Regions from separate parts of the Homo sapiens genome. Here all the other regions are linked to region 1. Evidence: promoter capture Hi-C in human tissues and cell types (Jung and others, 2019). All regions are on one chromosome and are shown on one strand. Each heading gives the region's core, a stretch centred on a gene start or on the middle of the fragment in contact. The rest is flanking DNA. Distances are from core to core; before and after follow the strand shown.

What was found. The method cuts DNA at HindIII sites, captures the fragments that hold promoters and counts their contacts. A contact is called where the count stands out against the background at its distance.
Region 2: a fragment that was not itself captured here is called in contact with the fragment with the promoter of SLC5A10 in region 1 in 1 of the 25 tissues and cell types used here (mesenchymal stem cells).
Region 3: a fragment that was not itself captured here is called in contact with the fragment with the promoter of SLC5A10 in region 1 in 5 of the 25 tissues and cell types used here (H1 embryonic stem cells, aorta, dorsolateral prefrontal cortex and 2 more).
Region 4: a contact is called between a fragment that was not itself captured here and the fragment with the promoter of SLC5A10 in region 1, in 4 of the 25 tissues and cell types used here (adrenal gland, dorsolateral prefrontal cortex, spleen and 1 more).

Annotation. Positions count from the first base shown.
Region 1 is chr17:18,950,635-18,955,621 of GRCh38, forward strand. It overlaps SLC5A10 (solute carrier family 5 member 10), which reads left to right and starts at 1,531. Exons shown (of 15, transcript NM_001042450.4): 1 at 1,531-1,682. The coding sequence starts at 1,572. The HindIII fragment of the contact is 13,514 bases long and covers 1-4,987 here.
Region 2 is chr17:19,259,694-19,264,873 of GRCh38, forward strand. The region is part of intron 1 of EPN2 (epsin 2); the gene reads left to right. Among named protein-coding and RNA genes, the nearest start is that of EPN2-IT1, 9.1 kb to the right of the region's middle. The HindIII fragment of the contact is 7,234 bases long and covers 225-5,180 here.
Region 3 is chr17:18,611,781-18,616,990 of GRCh38, forward strand. It overlaps LOC107985051 (a long non-coding RNA gene), which reads left to right. Exons shown (of 3, transcript XR_001752812.2): 3 at 1-4,120. It also overlaps the pseudogene CCDC144BP. Among named protein-coding and RNA genes, the nearest start is that of TBC1D28, 30 kb to the right of the region's middle. The HindIII fragment of the contact is 7,367 bases long and covers 1-4,947 here.
Region 4 is chr17:18,645,951-18,651,560 of GRCh38, forward strand. It overlaps the pseudogene PAIP1P2. Among named protein-coding and RNA genes, the nearest start is that of TBC1D28, 4.4 kb to the left of the region's middle. RefSeq lists an enhancer at 4,334-4,834. The HindIII fragment of the contact is 6,520 bases long and covers 820-5,610 here.

The DNA.
Region 1 (4,987 bases), core at 281-2,780:
TTCTCTCAGCAGTGACTTCCTTTTTCCCTTCCTTCTTCTGCCTAGTCCTGTATGTGAGGACTATTAATTGTTTTTTGTTGTTGTTGTTGTTTGTTTTGTGAGATGGAGTCTCCCTCTGTTGCCCAGGCTGGACTGCAATGGCGCAGTCTTGGCTCACTGCAATCTCTACCTCCTGAGTTCAAGCAATTCTCCTGCCTCAGCCTCCCAAGTAGCTGGGATTACAGGTGCGTACCACCATGTCTGGCTAATTTTTGTATTTTTAGTAGAGACGAGGTTTTGCCATGTTGGCCAGGCTGGTCTCAAACTCCTGATCTCAGGTGATCCACCCGCCTTGGCCTCCCAAAGGCATGAGCCTCCCAAGGGCATGAGCCACTGCTCCTGGCCGAGGGGATTAATTTTTACCCGCACCTCAGGGTTATTGAGTAACAGGCTGGCTGGGTTTGCAGGCCAGCGTGTTCCTGGTGGCAGCCGCTCACTCATTAACACTTCTGGAAGTGCTGCATGTCTGGTTAAACTGCAAATGCTTTGCAAAGTCACGAGTCATGTCACTGAGCAGAGGCGTGAGACTGCCGGCCAGCCCTGCTGTGTACACTGATAGAATTAGTGAGCGAGCGTCCCACTCTGATGGAATCCAGATGGAACTCGTCACTGTCACTGCGGTGGAGACGGTGGGGCCACATCTGCACTGAATCCTACTCTGCGCCTTCAATGGCTGCGTAATGGCGGATGGCCATTTCCTTGACTAGGATGAGACATTGCCTACTCTGCGTGGCTGCTGTGAGCGTGAAATGGGATCATGTGCGGAACAGCCACGCATGGTCCGTGAAATGGGATCATGTGCAGAACAGCCACGCATGGTCCTTGGTGTGTGACAGATATTGGGTCCCTCTGTGGTCCCAGGCAGACATTGCCCGGGGTGGGGGCCGAATGCATGGTCAAGTTGAGGGGCCTGGGACTGTTTCACGGGTCTAGAAAAAGAAAGCAGAAACGCTGGAAGCAGGACTTTATTGTCCGACATGGGGCTGCCTCTGAGCCTGGGCTGTGTTGGCTGGACGTGAGCCATAATGCAGGTGTCCCCCTCCCAAGCCCTGCTCAGTCCACTCACAGCCCGATGGCCAAGGGAGGACATGGCTGCCCGCCACGGCAGTATCTTCAGAGGTGAGGCGGTTGTCCCTACGCTCTATGCTTCTTATACAAATTAGATATAGGTGAAGCCACCCATTAAGCAACCCAGCCTTTCTGGGACTATTTGGGCTGCCTCCGGGTCCACTAAATGCGGTTCATTTTCCCCAAGCCCCCTCCGAGTTCAAGGAGGCTCCTTCCTTTCCTCCTCCCACTTGCTTCTCCCAGGCTCCCTGACTCCTGCGCTCTGGGATCTGCACCCCACCATGGGGTGAGGAAGCTGAACTGCATGGTGAGGCAGCTGCCCTGCATGCAGCCACATCATGGGCTGGAGATGCCACTGTCCGCTTGGTTTAATGATCAATGAGCTCCCTGCCAGGAAACCCTTTCTGACCTGGTTTGCCCCTCAGTCCCTCGGGCTCATACCTAGTGCCTGCGGCAGGACAGCCATGGCCGCCAACTCCACCAGCGACCTCCACACTCCCGGGACGCAGCTGAGCGTGGCTGACATCATCGTCATCACTGTGTATTTTGCTCTGAATGTGGCCGTGGGCATATGGGTAAGGGGACCTGTGGTGGTGTTGGCCAAGTGGGCTCTCAGGGTTGGTGCTTGGGGTGGGAACCGGGGTCCAGCATGTCCCTGTGGTGTCAGCATTGGTCCCAGCTGGTGGCCTAGTGATCCTTGTGGTCCTCCTCCCAGCCTGGGGTAGACTTGCTTGGAGACCTTGACCAAGCCCGTTTCTCTCTTTGGGTAATGGCGTCTCCATCTGCAAAGTGAGGAGGAGGAAATTCTCTCTAACAGGTAACTGGGCTTTTGTGCTGCTGCCCAGCTGGAGTCCTTGGGTGTGGCCCATCAGCCTCCTGGTCCCAGTCTCCATGGTGTCAGTGACTCCTGTCTGCTTGAACAACAGGCTCCCCGGGATTCCCTGGCTGCACCCCAGAGCTGCTGGATCAGAATCCGGAGGCAGGGAGGGCCCTGGGAACTGGGGGTCTTTATTTTGAACAAGCTCCCTGGGGATTTATGTCCTGTGGCCTAGCCCTAGATCATAAGCCGGTTCTTTCTCCCTTCATAACAGTGAGAAATGAGCAGAGATCTGACCCCACACACAGATTCCAGGGGCAGCGGGGCCCCTGGGGACAGGCTGTTTCATGTGCAGATGGAGAAACCGAGGCTCTGGCCCTGCAGCAAGGGAAGGGCTCCTCTGGTCTATCGTGGAGGCCTTCCTGAGGGAAGGTGGACACAGCCTGGTTCAGGTCACCTGCTCCACGCTTAGCGCCTGGGGATGTTGGGCTCCACTTCTTAAGCCCCAGAGGTCCCCAGCCTGGCATCCCTGAGCCCTGACAGTCTCCTGGGGAGAATGAGTACCCCTTCTTTTTTTTTTTTTTTTTTTTTAACTGAGACGGAGTCTAGCACTGTCACCTGGGCTGGAGTGCAGTGGCACTATCTCGGCTCACTGCAACCTCCACCTCCTGGGTTCAAACAATTCTGCCTCAGCCTCCTGAGTAGCTGGGATTACAGGCGTCCACTACCACACCCAGGTAATGTTTTGTATTTTTAGTAGAGACAGAGTTTTACCGTGTTGGCCAGGCTAGTCTCGAACTCCTGACCTCATGATTTGCCCGCCTCGGCCTCCCAAAGTGCTAGAATTACAGGCGTGAGCCACCGCGCCCGGCCGAGTACCCGTTCTTATCTTCCATAACCCCTGGCCTAAGCACGAAGGCCTGGCAAACAGGAGACTGGTCACGTCCCCTCAGCTTCCTGGGCCTCAGTGTTCTGATCTGTTATATGGAGACACCACCTACCTGGGGTGAGGTCTGCTATCAAGGGGCCCACACAGGACCAGACCTTGCTGCTGCCATTGGTTCTACAGTGGTAGCAGTGGTGGTGGTGGTGGCAGTTGTAGCAGTGGTGATTATAAGAGTAGCAGCCGCAGTCATTAAAATTAATTATCACAGGTTGGATTTCAAAAATCTGAAACCCAAAATCTGGAACATTTTGAACACCAACATGATGCTCAAAGCAAATGCTCATTGGAGCATCTCAGATTTTAGAGTTTTGGGTTGGGGATGTTCAACTGGCAGGTATTCTGTAAGTATCTCCAAATCTGAAAGAGTCCGAAATCCAAAACTTTTCTGGTTTCAAATATTTCGGATAACGGCTCCTCAACCTGTATGTGATTAAATATTAACTCACAAGTAGCCCAGTGCTGGCCATCGGCAAAGCCGAGTTCAAGTCTCGGCTCTGCTCTGTGTACTTAAGTCACTTAATCTCTGTGGGCTTCAGTTTCCTCAAACACGCAATGCGGGTTTCTGTGCAGCCCACATCTCAGGGCTGTTCCAAGGAGCAAGGGTCCAATGGAAGTGAAAATCTGTTGCAAACTGTAACGTGCTATATTCCTGTGACAGTTGGTGGCTAGAATTCAGAGGAGGAGGTGCCCACGTGGGGCAGAACAGACAGTGGAGGGTTTCTGGATGAGGGGAGGTAAGGGCCAGGCAAGATCTGAAGAGGGAAAGAGGAGGGGAGACAAGGCTGTCCTGGCTAGCACGTCTAAGAAAGATGTTCTGGGCACCTGAGGCCAGACCCTTTGTAGCCCAGTGACTTGGGCCACCAGCCCTTGTTGCCCATGACCCACCTCTCCTAGTGAGTCAGCTTGCTGTTTGCAGGCTGGTGCCCCTGGAAGTAGGGCTGTAGGAGTTCTGCCCTGTCCCTCCTAGCAGGCTAGGCTGGCCCAGCTGGGAGCGGCTGGCAAGAGAGCAGTGAGCACATCCAGAAAAGATCAGAACCAGACAGGGAGGATGCTGGAGATGCATCCCACAGGGAGAAGCAGACAGAGCAAGCCAGGCAGGTGCAGCCCTGCAAAGATGTTTAGATGGTGGGCCTGGGAGAGTCTGGCGGGGGCCGGGGGGAGGCCTTTAAGGAAGAGATGTTCCTGGAGGAGGGGACTTTGAGCTGAGCCTTTGCATTCATTAAAGTATCTGTTAACAAGTGACTGAAAACTGCTTTCAAATGAGCTCTAAGAATATAGGAAATGTAGGCCGGGCGCAGTGGCTCATGCCTGTAATCCCAGCACTTTGGGAGGCCTAGGCGGGTGGATCACGAGGTCAGGAGTTTGAGACCAGCCTGGCCAGCATGGTGAAAGCCCGTCTCTACTTTTGTATTATTTTGTGATAATACAAAAATTAGCCAGGCGTGGTGCCAGGCGCCTGTAATCCCAGCTACTCAGGAGGCTGAGGCAGGAGAATTGCTTGAAACCGGAAGGCGGAGGTCGCAATGAGCTGAGATCACGCCACTGCACTCCAGCATGGGCAAAAGAGTGAAACACTGTATCAAAAAAAAAAAAAAAAAAAAAAAAAGAATTCAGGAAATGTAATTGTGTCCAGCAATAGAAAGGGCTTCAGGTGCAGTATGATCCAGGGATTCACAGCATTATTAAGGATACAGCTACACCTCACTTTGGTTCTCTCAGCCTCCATCCATGTGTAGCTCTGTCCTAAGCCCAGCTCCCCTCGTGTCCTGATGTGAAATGACCAGCCCTGCGATTGAGCCTGAGTTGAAATCCAGGCTGCACCACTTGCTAGATGGGTGTGTTTTCATCTCTGAGACCATCAGTTTCCTCATTGGTAACATGGCACCTGCTTCATAGAGCTGTTGCGAGGACTAAGAACTCCACACAGATCAAGAAGTTGAAGCCAACTCTGGCATGGGGGCCTTCGGGGAACCTTAAATGGGTACATGTGGCCCCCAGCAACTGCCAGCAGCCCCCAGAGCCCCAGATATAAGAAGGCAACTGGCAATGCCCACTATAGGCTTGAAAGATGAGAAGGGTTAGGAAAAAGCATGGGCTGTAAACATAGATGCTTTGGA
Region 2 (5,180 bases), core at 2,592-5,091, 310 kb after region 1:
CTGATTAAATGAAGGCCAGGCTTGCCTAGTTCCAGGGAAAAGGCCAAGGGTGCCTAGAGCAAGGTGGATGGGACTTTGTTCGCAGATGGGCCTTGAGAGAGCGACCCCTCGCTCCTAAATGCCCGGAGGAAGGGACGGACTTCTTTATCTTTACCATGGGTATTCTGCCTTACTGCTTTGGCCTGTGGCGTTTCTTCACTTGCTTTTCCTCATTTTGCTTGGAATGTGCTTTGCCTGTTGCATACCCACCTCGTCTGCCCCCTTGCACACTCCATGGCTGGCCTAAAAGCCCAGTCTGCTGTCCTGTGCCCTTTAGACTTCCACTGTAGGATTATGTTTCCACACTCCCTGTGGACTGTGCCACTGGAGCTCTCTGCAGACAGGGACTGTGTCAGGTTGACCTCCATCCTTCAGCACCAGCCCAGTGCCTGGCAGGTAGCAGGAAAGCAGAAGCTGAGGAAGGACTTGCTGCACAAGTGGATGCCAGGAGCTCTGGTTCTTCCCTTCTTGAATCTGCTACCTTATGATGGGAGGGACACAGGGCTGTGCTGGATTTGTGCACGATGCTTTGGACAGCCCATGGGAGAGGGCCAGGAGGAAGGAAACCCAGACTGAGTGGATAGCAGGCTGGATGGGGGCATTGACAGTGGGGGAAGCATTAAAGGCCATTTATAGCCTTCCAAATGTGAAGCTGGAGGGGCCTGGAAGAGAGTCACAGAAAGGAAGGGACAGACGCGGGACGGTGCAGGGTCCCTGCCCTCCAGCTTCACAGGTCTTGGTAATGGGCTCTTACACGGGTTGGTGGCGGAAGGACACAGGTGGACCTGGGCTGGTGGTCACTCCTGGGCTGCTCTTGGCCCTGGCATCTGAGACCTGTTGGCCAAAGGCTTTGATGTGGCTCTGGTATTTTTTCTTTTTTTTGAGAATGGAACTTTTTTTTTTTTTAATGAAATGCTCTTTTGAATAGGCAATACAGTCACGTTTCTAAAATGAAAATATATTAAAATATATTTTAAGAAATTTTGCCCCTCACTCCTGATCTCATCTCTGTCCTCCCTCCTCCCTGGTAACCACCTGTAGCAGTTTGAATACCCTTCTAGTTTTTCTTAATGCAAGTACAGCAAACACAAATTGTGTATTATTATTTCTCCCTTTTCAGTAAATGAAAGATAGCATTCTGTGTGTACTGTTCTTCATCTTGTGCTTTTTTTAACTTATTGTAGAGATTTTTCCATATCAGTGCATGGAGAATGGTTGTCATTCTCTTTCAGCTGTGTTGCACTGTGAAGTTGTCCCTGTTTGAATACTCACCCCTGAGGAAAGGCACCTGGCTGTTTCCAGCTTGTTTCATGACATGCCGGCGACAGTTGTCTCACGTGCACATCGTTTCCCACATTGCAGTGGTCCTGCAGGGTGGCATCCCGCAGGCACATTGCTGAGTCAAAGAGGAAACACAGTTGTAATTTTGACAGATTTTGCCCAGTTGCCCTCTACAGGGCTTGTTCCATGTTGCACTCCCACTGGCGGTGTTGATGCCTGATTCCCCACTGACTCGTCAACACAAGGTGTAGTCAAATGCTTGGAGTTCTGCCAGCCTGACACTTGTAAATAATATCTCAGTATAGTTTTAATTTGTATTTTTCTGAAGAGGAGCTGATCATGTTGTCATATGTTTAAGGACCATTTATAGTTTTCTGTGGACAGTTCTTCGATTTTTCTCTTGGGTTATTGGTTTTTTCTCAATTTCTGAAGGTGTTTTTTATATTTTTGGAAGGTTAGTTCATTGTCTTATGAGTTATAAATTTTTTTCAGGCTAGGAATTATTCTGATCTAGGCAGAGTCTTTAAATAATTCTATTCCTCCCCTTCCCTCTGCCCCATCTCCTTATGTTTGAAGATTTGGACAGTGGCTTTGGGACAGAACCACACCTTTGGCTTCCTTCCAGGATTTAAGTTAATTGGCCTTAGACACATTTTCGGTATGAACTTATGATAGCGTGGATGTGTTTGAGGTGTATCAGGATGGGCTACATGATGTGAGAACAGCCAACCCTCTCACCTCAGTGGCCTAACAGCAGAGGCTCATTTCTTTTTCATGGGGCATGTCCAGTGTATGTAGTCAGGAGACTTCACTCATAGTCACTCATGAACCTAGGATGATGGTGGCACAAGCTTTTTGTTTTGTCTTATTTTGTTTTGTTAACAGTTTTATTGGCTGGGAGTGGTGGCTCACACCTGTAATCCCAGGACTTTGGGAGGCCAAGGTGGGTGTATCACTTGAGGTCAGGAGTTCGAGACCAGCCTGGCCAACGTGGTGAAACCCATCTCTACTAAAAATACAAAAATCAGCCAGGCATGGTGGCGCATCCCTGTAGTCCCAGCTACTTGGGAGGCTGAGGCAGGAGAATTGCTTGAACCCAGGAGGCAGAGGTTGCAATGAGCTGAGATTGTGCCACTGCACTCCAGCCTGAGCAACAGAGCAAGACTCCATCTAAAAAAAAACAGGCCAGGTGCAGTGGCTCATGCCTGCAATCCCAGCACTTTGGGAGGCCAAGGCGGGCGGACCACCTGAGGTCGGGAGTTCAAGACCAGCCTGACCAACATGGAGAAACCCTGTCTCTACTAAAAATACAAAATTAGCTGGGTGTAGTGGCACATGCCTGTAATCCCAGCTACTTAGGAGGCTGAGGCAGGAGAATCGCTTGGACCCAGGAGGCGGAGGTTGCCGTGAGCCGAGATCACACCACTGCACTCCAGCCTGGGCAACAGGAGCGTTAAAACTCCATCTCAAAAACAAAACAAAACAAAACAAAAACAGTTTTATTGATGCATAATTTATTTGCCATGCAATAAAGTTCACCATCAGCATAATCTTATTTTAGAACATTTTATTACCCCCAAAAGCAACCCTGTACCCATTAAGCAGTCATTTCCCCTCCCATTCTCTCCAGCCCCTGGCAACTGCAATAAAGTTCACCATCAGCATAATCTTATTTTAGAACATTTTATTACCCCCAAAAGCAACCCTGTACCCATTAAGCAGTCATTTCCCCTCCCATTCTCTCCAGCCCCTGGCAACTATCAGTCTGCTTTCTGTCTCTGTGGATTTGCCTGTTCTGGACATTCCACATAAATGGAGTCATACAGTGTGTGGGCTTTTGTGTTTGGCTTCTTACATTCAGTGTAATGTTGTCGAGGTTCATCCATATGGTAGAATGGGCCAGAACTTCCTTTTTAAGGCTGAATAATATTCCATTGTGTGGATAGATCACATGTTGTTGATCTGTTCATCAATTGGACAAAGTTGTTTCCAGTCTTTGGCAGTCGTGAGTAACACAGCTGTGAACATGGTACATGAGTCCCTGTGTAGACATGCTTTCCTGTCTCTGGATAGATAAGGAGGCTCCATCCTGACATAGGCACCCACTGTCACCACCGCAGGGAATGTGGCACCTGCCTTTTACTGTTCAGCAGAGAGTGACACACATCATTTCTATCTCATCTCATTGCCGTGCCATGGCTGACTTCAGAGGAGGTGGGAAAATGCACTTCTGTCATAGGCCTAGAAGTGGGTGAACTGGAAATACTTGGTGACTAGGATCAGTACTTTAGAAGAGAAGAGAAGTGGGGCCCATCCCTGGGGCCCATGAGAGTGGTTTTGTTTGGACAAGTCATTCCGGAAAGCGTTCACTAGTAAGGAGGGAGTTCCAGGATAGAAATTACGTGGGTTGGCCTTGAAAGCTGGTTGGTGGAAAAACCTCACATCTTCCAAGGAGCGTCTTAGATGGGTATGATGATATTGGAACAGAGAAGGGCAACCACATAGAAGTAATATAAGTAGAATGGAGGTTTAGGATTGAGCACTTCTGAGTTTCACAGGAGGCATTGTGGCTGAGAGCTTCATCCCAGTTCTGTGATTTGCTGTATGTTATCCTCTCTCTTGTGTAATGCCTGCCTTGCAAAAGTGCAGCAAGATCAGTGCCATGAAACCCCTGGGTCAGTGCCTGGCACATGGTAGGCATTCAGTAAATTATAGCTGTCACCTTGGTGCATTTGACCAGCAGCAGCTGAGTCTGCAGTCACTGAGTCACCAGACCTGGCCTTCCTGAGGCCTTGGGCTTATGTTTTCCTTGTGAGGCATAAATATGCTGAAGAACATCCCTGTTTTCTTGGCCTGGTCCTCCCTGTGGTGGCTGAAGGAAAGAGGGGGGCTGGAGCGAGAAGGGGGGTTAGGGGCATGGATGTAGCCAGTGTATATTTGGAGGGCAAGTAAACAGTTCTTCCTTGGCCTCTCGGCACAAGTTTCTAAAGTAGAGCGATTTCTGAGTTTAGGAGCAGCTGGGCAGATCTGCACACGCACCCAGTTGTCAGTGCTGGAAACGCGCCCCTTTATTATTATTTTTCTAAACAAAGCAGGACAATGGCAGTGTAAACATTGTTTGAACAAAAAGCATTTGGCCAATGGAGATAAAACCAAAAGGAAAATAACAACTTTGATTTCCTTTTGGTTTTGTGTTTTGACATTTGGTAGCATACTTCTAATCTTTTAGGAATTATAAAAATTATATGGTTTGCGAACTCCAGTTTGTTTATGCTGTTAAATTTAGTGCGAAGTAAACTAAAAAATTCCCCTCCTGTTGGGATGTCAGCTTGCTCCCATTTTTGTTTTTCTTTGAGAGGCATGGTCAAAGGACCAGTGGGACCTGAAGAGGGCCCGTCAAAAGCATGTGAGGCATGTGGGGAAACCTGTAGTGAAGCAGAAAGTGCAGCCTTATTTCCTACAGCTCTCTCATGTTCCTTATCTTGCTGATTCTCGCTGGCTGCCATTTCCATTTTACAAATGAGGAAACTAAACTGAGATTCAGTGAGGTGACTAAAAGGTGCTGGGTAGAGCAGTGATCTTTTCATTCTGCCAGGTAGTTATTTTAAAACTTACCAATATTCATAGGCCATGTTTTATGTTCAGTGAGGGCATTTGTGGTTTGGTAAGGGTGTAGAGAGGATCAGAGAGCTTGGAGGAAGGGAGAGAGAAAGGGGGGAGTGTGTGAGCAGGTGGGGCTGGACTCGGTGCCCTGTAGAGTCATTCATTCTTGCAGCAGATGTGTGCCAGGCACTGTGCCAGGCCCAGCATGCAGCATCAAGGAGACAGTCGGGGTCTCTGTCCCTTGAGAGCCTGCAGTC
Region 3 (5,210 bases), core at 14-2,513, 340 kb before region 1:
GCTAATTTTTTGTATTTTTAGTAGAGACGGGGTTTCACCGTGTTAGCCAGGATGGTCTCGATCTCCTGACCTCGTGATCCGCCCGCCTCGGCCTCCCAAAGTGCTGGCATTACAGGCGTTAGCCACCACGCCTGGCCGCATGCTTGTTTTTAAAATATTTTAGTTTTTATTTCTAAAATAGTAAATATCAAAAGACACAACCGACTTAAATAAAAGCTCTTTGGAATTTGCAATAATTTTTCTTTATTTTAATTATTTATTTATCATTATGAAGAGAGTTTGAGATCCAGTCATTTGATAGAAAACCAGAGCTTCCTGTGTCAATAAGGACTGACCTCAAAAATGTAATGTGACCAGACAAAAGAAAGTTGCAAAATATGTAGAGTGTAAAACAATTTATATACAATTTTAGGACATGAAAACAAATTCTACATATTATTTATGACCATACACATATGTAATAAAATGTTTTAAAAGGGAATGGACATAATAAATTCTTAATTCAGGGTGTTGGTTACCTCTAGGCAATAATATTTAATCATATAAAACGAACCCCAGGCCAAAAAGTTTCAGAATCAATGTTTTAAAAGACTGTGTCCACCATGTAGTTATTAAGGGTAATTAATTGCTTTCTTCGTTTTTGATAATCAAAACACACACACATGATTTGCTGACCAGAATATCTGACTGGCTTAAAATCATCAGTATAGCCACACTATGATGAAATAATTAAACTTAAAGCACAACTAACATATTGGCAAGTAAAGTTTGTCTTATCTGATAAGTTTTGGTGCTGCACGTTCACCTTATATTCTTTCCACCTTTCTAATACCCCACTCTTCTTTTGAAGTATTATCTCATTTTACCACCCTCCATCATATCCACTTGCTTCTTTTCCCTTCATTTACTCTCTGTACTCTCTGCCTTCCACATTCTTTATTCCCCCTTTTACTCTTATCCTCTTCCTTCTATCCTGACATTGCATATCTAGGGTTCAGTAGTATCCACTGTTCCAGGCATTCACTGGGGGTCTTGGAACATAACCCCCATGGATAAGGGGGGAAAACTGTACATTTTATTGTGTAGGTCTATGGGTGCTGTGCTGTGTTCTGTGGCAAAACATAGGGAAGAGACCAGGGATAAGGATCTTTGCAAAGACTTTTCAGCTGCCAGTGGAGAAGAGCTCAAGGGAGATCAATGTACTCACTCTCACTAATCCTCTTCTGGGGCAGATGCTGGCAATGTTTACTGAGTTCTAGCTATTTTCCCTAGCACAAACAAGGCTCAAATTCACCTCCCATTTTACCTCCTATGGACAGAACCACTGGAAAGATCACTCCCTTAAAGAGCTTATTCACTCTGAGCCACACCATTCATTCAGTGAGAAGCTTAAGAAGAAACACTGCCACAGTGGTGGCAGGTTGCCAGGGAGTACTACCTGGTATGAAAAATATATATAAACAGAACTATCAGCTCACTCAAGCTGCCAGAATGTGCCAACAGTTGTTACTCTCTCTGGTGAAAACAACATTATTTTTCATTTATTGTAAAGAAAAACACTGGCATTTCCTATGACAGAGCATTTAGTTGTAGATGAGCCATATTCTAATAATATAGACTGTTTTCAAGCTCATCCCTAAAAGGAAGAGAACCAGAGAGGAACATATTTATTCACCTGTAGTGTTCACTGCCTGATCTTCTTTTTAAGTGCAAGGTAAGTATGCAAGACTTTGTGATTCCAGTTTTATAAAGTCCAGCTCTTGAGATTATCCCGTCCCATCGCTAGACTCTATCTGGACCCATCTCCTAGAGCACGATGGTCCAGTTAGTGCTGTGGAATACTGCATGATGCCATTTTTCCCCACCCTCCCCGTTACGTGGCAAACATCTACAGAAATCACGCTTTCTCAGCACGTCAAATCATACGCCATCAGATCCTGTTCTGATGAACACAACATGAGGAAAACAAACACAAGGACAAAGAACATCTAAAATGACAGAATCAAATTACCATGGAACTTTATTGTTTAAATATTCAAAAAGATATCCACCACTGTTTTATTCCAACTATATGACTAGTCTGGAAAAAGCAAAACTACTGAGACACCAAAAAGACCAATGGTTGCCAGAAACCAGTGGAGAGGAAGAGACGAAACAGTGGAGGACAGAGGATATTTAGGGCAGTGAAACTATTTTGTCTGTGATACTACAAGGGTATATACATGCCATCACACATTTGTCCAACACCATAGAATGTACAAAACCAAGAGTGAACCCTAACGTAGACTGTGGACCTTGGGGGTGATGTGTCTGTCAAGGTAGATTCCTCAACTGTAACTCTGATGAACTCTGATGGGGGGTACTGATAATGAGGGAGGCTATTCATATGTCAGGGGTCATGGGGAATATGGAAAATCTCTGTACCTTCTCAATTTTGCTGTGAATCTAGAACTGCTCAGAAAATAATATTATTAATTCTAAAGCACATACTCACTGAACTTGCTATTACCCTAAATTATAAAAAGACAGAGTCACCTTGAAAATTGCAAATCACTAAAGATCAAGGTAACAGAATACGAGTACTATCTCCGAAATTGAAGCATATAAAAACACATAAAGCAATTAATTTTAATTGTATACTTAGGCAAAAAAAAATTCACAAAAATGATTGAATATCTGATCTTATTTCATAATTGTAAACAGGGATTTAGTACAATATGAATCAAAACTGGTCCATCCATGAAAATAAAATGAAAGACAATTTTTATTCTAATTTTAAATCAGAACTTATTATGCCTACTTTATCCCACAATTTTACTGAAAGGTTAATCAGATAAGAAGGACAGATTATAATTACTTAATATTGCCATAGTAACTTATGTACCAATACCTGTTAAGTATTCACCAAATGTCAAAACTGTAAGCAGCCTTGCTATTTAATATGAATGATGCAGCTGAAACCAGTACCATGTTATGGTCTATCATATTATTTGCTATTGTATTATATAAAATGTTAAGATAACACCAAAAATTTACTCAGGGGCATAGCTGCTGGGCAGCAAAGATTTCATATAGCAGGCATGAGACACCCATCCTTAGAAAGGCTTGCTTGCAAGGCTAGTCCTTGGCTGGTGTTTGGGACCTTGAATTTGGGAGGGTTCCCAGCATTCCCTAACTTAGAAGAAGGGAGTGGCTCACTGTGCCTAAAGTGTTTGTGCAAATGTGGTTTACTATGAACAATTAATTTCCTCCTGGGAGTCTAGAGTTTTGTTACATGTGAGGGAGAGGAGAGGTGGCCTATGTGACTAGCCTCCATCGAAAACATGGGTGCTGAGCCTCTAATGAAACTCTGGTAAGGTAGACAACATTGCACATGTGTCGTCAAAATTTGAGGCTGGGGGAATTAAGCATATCCTGCTAGCTACACAGGAGATGACTCCTGTAGCTTGTGCCTGGCTTCCTCCAGACTTTGACACATGCACCTTTTCCTTTCTCAAATGTTGCTTTGTGTCTTTTTGCTGTATTAAATGTAATAAATCAAAGCCCCAAGTATGACTATCTGCTGAGTCCTGTGAGTCCTTCTCAGTGAATTACCAAACCTCAGTGAAGGGGGTCTTGGGAACCCCTGATACAATTGCATTAAACAATTTTTTATTGTTTAAGTTGATGTGTTACATGTGACTACAATCAGAAGGTAATTTCACAGAATACCTTTCCCTAATCTGCTTATTTTTTATTTTTTGACATTTGCCTTGGAGATTCCTGTACTTCTATATCCACTGGACTAAAGGCATTAAAAATGCATGAAACAATGATGTCAGAAAGTAATTTTTAAAAGCAACAATCCTATTTTAACTCAATTAAAAATAGAAAATCTTAATGACTGACAATATATTCTACAGTATAAAAGTTTCTGGAACAAAAAATTATAAGATCACAGTCAATTTTCTCCCACTAGGTAGGATTTAATTCATTTTTATAATAATTGTGCAGCAGGCCAGGTGCAGTAGCACACATCTGTTGTTCCACCTACTCAGGAGGCTGAGGCAGAACGATTGCTTGAGGCTAGGAACTAAAGCTGCAGTGTGCTATAATCACACCCGTTCAAAAAAAAAGTCCAGGCCGGGCGCGGCGGCTCACGCCTGTAATCCCAGCACTCTGGGAGGCCGAGGCGGGTGGATCACGAGGTCAGGAGATCGAGACCATCCTGGCTAACACGGTGAAACCCCGTCCCTACTAAAAATACAAAAATTTAGCCGGGCGCGGTGGCGGGCGCCTGTAGTCCCAGCTACTCAGGAGGCTGAGGCAGGAGAATGGCGTGAACCCGGGAGGCGGAGCTTGCAGTGAGCCGAGATAGCGCCACTGCAGTCCCGCCTGGGTGGAAGAGCCAGACTCCGTCTCAACAACAACAACAAAAAAAGTCCAAAAAAGCCCTGCAAATAGTGGAACTGATCAGTAAGGATCAACAGGACTTTTAACTTATCTGGCCGGGAGAAGAGACATCTTATGTATAGATGGTTAAAAGTGTGGTAATCCAATTGACCACATATTCTAGTTAAATCACAGATTACCAATTTCTGAAGAAATGTAATACCACAAAAGCACTTCACATTTAAACTATGTCAGATAAAACAATTTGTATTTGACAACCCAGAAGACACTTAAAATCTTGGCAGACCATCATTGTGTCATTGTGGTGCAGATATAAAGAAGTGCATTTGAAATGTGTTCTAATAGTATTTTCTTTAGGAATGGAATTCAAAAGGAAGCAGTAAGAGCAGAAATATCACAAGAGGGTAAATGAAAAGGGAACTGCACTAACAAAAGGAGTCAGGCACTGACTTTTCTCCTGATGTGACCAAAACCCCAAGTACTGAGAACTGCTATATTCAGCATTTCACTTTATATTTTTCTCCAGGACATTATATTAGTTTCCTGCAATAAAATATTTTTAAAATGTCAGTTTGTCTAAACTGCTGGCCTGTAAACTATTTCTAATCAAAACCTGAAATTGTGTCACAACATGGCTGTATTATGATTCCATGTCAGAGGAACGATATATACGTGCATCTGGTGGTGGCTTCCAGTTGTTGCTGTCAGATGTTTGTTTGGGAATGCATTCAGAAGAGCCTATCAAGGACTTGAGTACCAAACAAGCATTTCCACAAAAAAGCAGGTAAGAAAGACTACACTTTTCCTCACATATGACC
Region 4 (5,610 bases), core at 2,830-5,329, 300 kb before region 1:
GTGCGCGTGGGAGCGCGCGCGCACACACACACACACACACACACACACACACACCACTTGTTGCTGATCTGCTGACTTATCTCACTGCCATGAAACAGCAGCTAAGCCTGTAATTGCTCTGCCTTTCCTTGGATTTTTCCTTTAGTTTCTCTGACTGCTGGGTTACTGGCCTGTGTTTAGCTTCATGAACATGGGTTTCACTTTATTTTTATGGGGTTCCAGCTCTTGCTCATGGAATCCCTCCCTGCCTGTTCTGCAGTCTTCCCTTGTTTACTGCCTGTGGACTTCAAGTATCAGACACAGAGAAAGATTTGTAGATACTGTTTACTCAGCCCCCACAATTTCCATAGCAGGTCTCTTAATTCCCATCACCTCCAGGGAGGGTCATTGCTGGGATCCTAGGAATCAAGTGCCTTGTCTTGATGGCCACAGTGGTAACCATAATAGTCAGGTTTTCCCTCTGTGCAATTCTGGAACATAAAAATCTTCTCTGGTAACAAGACTACAGAAAGCAATGAAAGCAACACTAAACTGGGAGTTTGCTGGCCTGTGTTTCTAAGAAATTTAATGTTTTTACATAAACAATGAAGAAGAAATGACTTTTCTAAAGTTCCTGTCATTTATGCCATGGATTGGACTCTTCTGTGAAAGCAGTTTCATTGATGGATGTGGATAATTAGCTTAACTTCAAGTAAAAGATTAGAGAGCAAATTGTAAACATAACTGTGCTTTTTTACACTCAAATGACATTAATCAGACAGTTTTGGATCTCTAGAAATATATATTAGAACATGTAAGTTCTATATTGAAATGCGCAAGTTTGGAATCCTTCAGGTGACTTATTTTTCATCAACTAGAAATAATATTAAAATTGCAAAGATTTATTATGTTTTATATTATTTGTCCTAATGGAAAAAGGAATTCAAATATGTTTATTAAAGTATAATATACACAGGAATCCTATTATTCTACTACTCAGTGATTTATCACAAAGAGGACACATGCTTGGAGCTACCACACAGTCCAAGAAAATGAAATAAAAATAACAATCTGGAAATCCCTCTCCTGAAGGTCTGCTCCCTAACCACTGCCCACCTGTCTTGTCAAAGCAAAGAGTCACCTGGTTTTTAGCAGCCCCAATTAGTGTTGTCTGTTTCATAAATGGATGCATGGAGGGCCATTCAGTAGGAATGGTTTTGTGTGTGGCTTCTTTGGCCCAGCATTACATTTGTGACACTCCTTCAAGTGGTTTCATGAAGCAGTTCTTTTTTTTTTTTTTTTTTCGAGATGGAGTTTCGCTCTGTCGGCCAGGCTGGAGTGCAGTGATGCGATCTCGGCTCACTGCAAGCTCTGCCTCCCAGGTTCACACCATTCTCCTGCCTCAGCCTCCCGAGTAGCTGGGACTTACAGGCGCTTGCCACCATGCCCAGCTAATTTTTTTGTATTTGTAGCAGAGATGAGGTTTCACTGTGTTAGCCAGGATGGTCTCAATCTCCTGACCTAGTGATCCGTCCCCCTCAGCCTCCCAAAGTGCTGGGATTACAGGCGTGAGCCACCGTGCCCGGCCCAAGCAGTTCATTTCTTTTCCCTGCTCAGTGGTGCTCTGCATGAATATGGCACATCTACCAATTCTACTGTTGATGGACATTGGTTTGTTTCTAATTTGGGACTACAAGCAATAAAGCCACTATGAACATTCTTGTTAATTTCTTTTGGTACACATGTATAGATATTTTAGTTAAGTACAGCCCTACAAATAAAATAGCTTGGTCATGGTAACTGCATATGTTCAAATGCAACGCATGTCACTAAAAATGTCAGCTAGGAGGAAAAGCTCAAGAGCTCTATTGTACAACATGTTGACTACAGTTAATAACAATGTGGTAATACTTGAAATTGTTGAGACAGCAGATTTTAAATGTTCTCACCACAAAAAAAAAAAGATAAGTATCTGAGGTAACTGATATGCTAGGTAGCTTGATTTAGCCATTCTACAATGTCTGTCTGTTGCTATACATATATATACACAGATTTAGCTATTCTACAATGTGTGTGTGTGTGTATGTAAAATGTGGTATAGCACAAATACATACAATTTATCAATTAAATTTTAATTCCAAAGATTTTTTTGACTAATATATAACCCAACCACAAGTTTGAGAGTTCTAATTAGATGTCCTTTCCAACACCTGATTTTGTCAGTCTTCCTTTTATATATTCTGGTTAGTGGATAATGTTATTTCGTTTTCATTTATTTTGGTCTTCTGATTATTAAAAGGCCTGATACCACTTTCATAAATGTTTATTGAAAATGTATATAATCAGGCTGGGCACGGTGGCTCATGCTTGTAATCCCAGTACTTTGGGAGGCCGAGGTGGGCGGATCTCTTGAGGTCCGGAGTTCGAGACCAGCCTGGCTAACATGATGAAACCCCGTCTCTACTAAAAATACAAAAAAAAATTAGCTCGCCATGGTGGCAGGCGCCTGTAATCCCAGCTACTCGGGAGGTTGAGGTGGGAGAATTGCTGGAAACCGGGAGGCAGATGTTGCAGTGAGCCAAGAACGTGCCACTGCACTCAAGCGCGGGGGACAAGAGCGAAACTCGCGTGGTGGTGCGTACGCCTGTAATCCCAGCTACTCAGGAGGCTGAGGCAGGAGAATCGCTTGAACCCGGGAGGCAGAGGTTGCAGTGAGCCGAGATTGCACCATTGCACTCCAGCCTGTGCTTCAAGAGCAAAACTCCGTCTCAAAAAAACAACAAAAAAAGAAAATGTATATAATCATATTTTCAGGGGTCTATGCAATTTTTTATACTTTTTCCAATGTGGTTATCAATCTTTCTAAATGATCTTCGAGAAGTTTTTAAAAATAAATTCTTGACATAAATTTTTGGGATTTTGTCAGTTAAAGGTGGAAATATCTTCTCTTTAAGAAAGAGCTTGGCTGGGCGTGGTGGCTCACGCCTGTAATCCCAGCATTTTGGGAGGCCGAGGCGGGCTGATCACGAGGTCAGATGGAGACCATCGTGGCTAACAAGGTGAAACTCCATCTCTACTAAAAACTACAAAAAAAATTAGCCGGGCGTGGTGGCGGGCGCCTGTAGACCCAGCTACAGGCTGAGACAGGAGGCAGGAGAGGAGGCTGAGACAGGAGAATGACGTGAGCCCGGGAGGCGGAGCTTGCAGTGAGCGGAGATCGCACTCCAGCCTGGGCGACAGAGCCAGACTCAGTCTCAAAAAAAAAAAAAAAAAAGAAAGAAAGAAAGAAAAGGAAAAAACAAAGAGCTTATTAGGCCGGGCACGGTGGCTCACGCCTGTAATCCTAGCACTGTGGGAGGCCGAGGCCGGCGGATCACGAGGGCAGGAGATTGAGACCATCCTGGCTAACATGGTGAAACCCTGTCTCTACTAAAAATACAAAAAATCAGCCGGGCGTGGTGGCGGGCGCCTGTAATCGCAGCTACTAGGGAGGCTGAGGCAGGAGAATCGCTTGAACCCAGGAGTTGGAGGTTGCAGTGAGCCGAGATGGCGCCACTGCACTCCAGCCTGGACTACAGAGCAAGACTCCGTCTCAAAAAAAAAAATAAAATAAATAAAATAAAATAAAAAGAGCTTATTAATGGATAATCATTGGAGATGTTAAGTTTTAGGTAAGATAGAAAAAAGGGTCTTTTAACATAGTTGTATTATATATATTTTTGCCTTGTATTTTCATGTTACAGAATGGGTCTAACTTTGGGTCAATATATGTGTTCACTTAATTTTTTTCTAAATTTGGAAGTAACCTGAAATTTACACAAAGACTACAATAGAATTACAAAGGATAGCCAGGTTCCTCTTAGACTGACACACAGTTAACGTTTAATCCTGCTTGTTTTATCATTTGCTCTTTCTATATACAAATTTTTCTTGAATCATTTCAATTTCATACATTACTCTTCTTTACCTCTAAATACTTCCAATATGCATTTCTCAATAATGAGGATATTATTAATACTTTACACAACCATGATACAGTTATCAACTGCAGTAAATTTAACATCAATACATTACTTTTATCTATTCTACTGCTTGTATTCCAGTTTTGAAAAATTGAACCAACAATGTCTTTAGGAGATTTTCTCTCACACAAGACCTAGTCAAAGATCCTGTATTGTATTTAGTTGTCATGATGCTTTAGTCTCTTTTAATTTGGAAGTTATTCAGCTTTTCCTTGTCTTATGTGACATTAATATTTTTGAAGGCCCGAACGGAGCGGGGCCTGCTGAGCGGGCGCGGCACCAGCCGCCGCAACCCAAAGCCCCGGGCTTCCTGCAGCCACCGCCGCTGCGCCAGCCCAGGACGACCCCGCCGCCAGGGGCCCAGTGCGAGGTCCCCGCCAGCCCCCAGCGGCCTTCCCCGCCCGGGGCGCTCCCAGAGCAAACGAGGTCCCTGAGAGCTCCACCTAGTTCACAGGATAAAATCCCACAGCAGAACTCGGAGTCAGCAATGGCTAAGCCCCAGGTGGTTGTAGCTCCTGTATTAAGGTCTAAGCTGTCTGTGAATGCCCCTGAATTTTACCCTTCAGGTTATTCCTCCAGTTACACAGAATCCTATGAGGTTGGTTGTGAGGATTATCCTACTCCATCAGAATATGTTCAGGATTTTTTGAATCATCTTACAGAGCAGCCTGGCAGTTTTGAAACTGAAATTGAACAGTTTGCAGAGACCCTGAATGGTTGCGTTACAACAGATGATGCTTTGCAAGAACTTGCGGAACTCATCTATCAACAGGCCACGTCTATCCCAAATTTCTCTTATATGGGAGCTCGCCTGTGTAATTACCTGTCCCATCATCTGACAATTAGCCCACAGAGTGGCAACTTCCGCCAATTGCTACTTCAAAGATGTCGGACTGAATATGAAGTTAAAGATCAAGCTGCAAAAGGGGATGAAGTTACTCGAAAACGATTTCATGCATTTGTATTCTTTCTGGGAGAACTTTATCTTAACCTGGAGATCAAGGGAACAAATGGACAGGTTACAAGAGCAGATATTCTTCAGGTTGGTCTTCGAGAATTGCTGAATGCCCTGTTTTCTAATCCTATGGATGACAATTTAATTTGTGCAGTAAAATTGTTAAAATTGACAGGATCAGTTTTGGAAGATGCTTGGAAGGAAAAAGGAAAGATGGATATGGAAGAAATTATTCAGAGAATTGAAAACGTTGTCCTAGATGCAAACTGCAGTAGAGATGTAAAACAGATGCTCTTGAAGCTTGTAGAACTCCGGTCAAGTAACTGGGGTAGAGTCCATGCAACTTCAACATATAGAGAAGCAACACCAGAAAATGATCCTAACTACTTTATGAATGAACCAACATTTTATACATCTGATGGTGTTCCTTTCACTGCAGCTGATCCAGATTACCAAGAGAAATACCAAGAATTACTTGAAAGAGAGGACTTTTTTCCAGATTATGAAGAAAATGGAACAGATTTATCCGGGGCTGGTGATCCATACTTGGATGATATTGATGATGAGATGGACCCAGAGATAGAAGAAGCTTATGAAAAGTTTTGTTTGGAATCAGAGCGTAAGCGAAAACAGTAAAGTTAAATTTCAGCATAT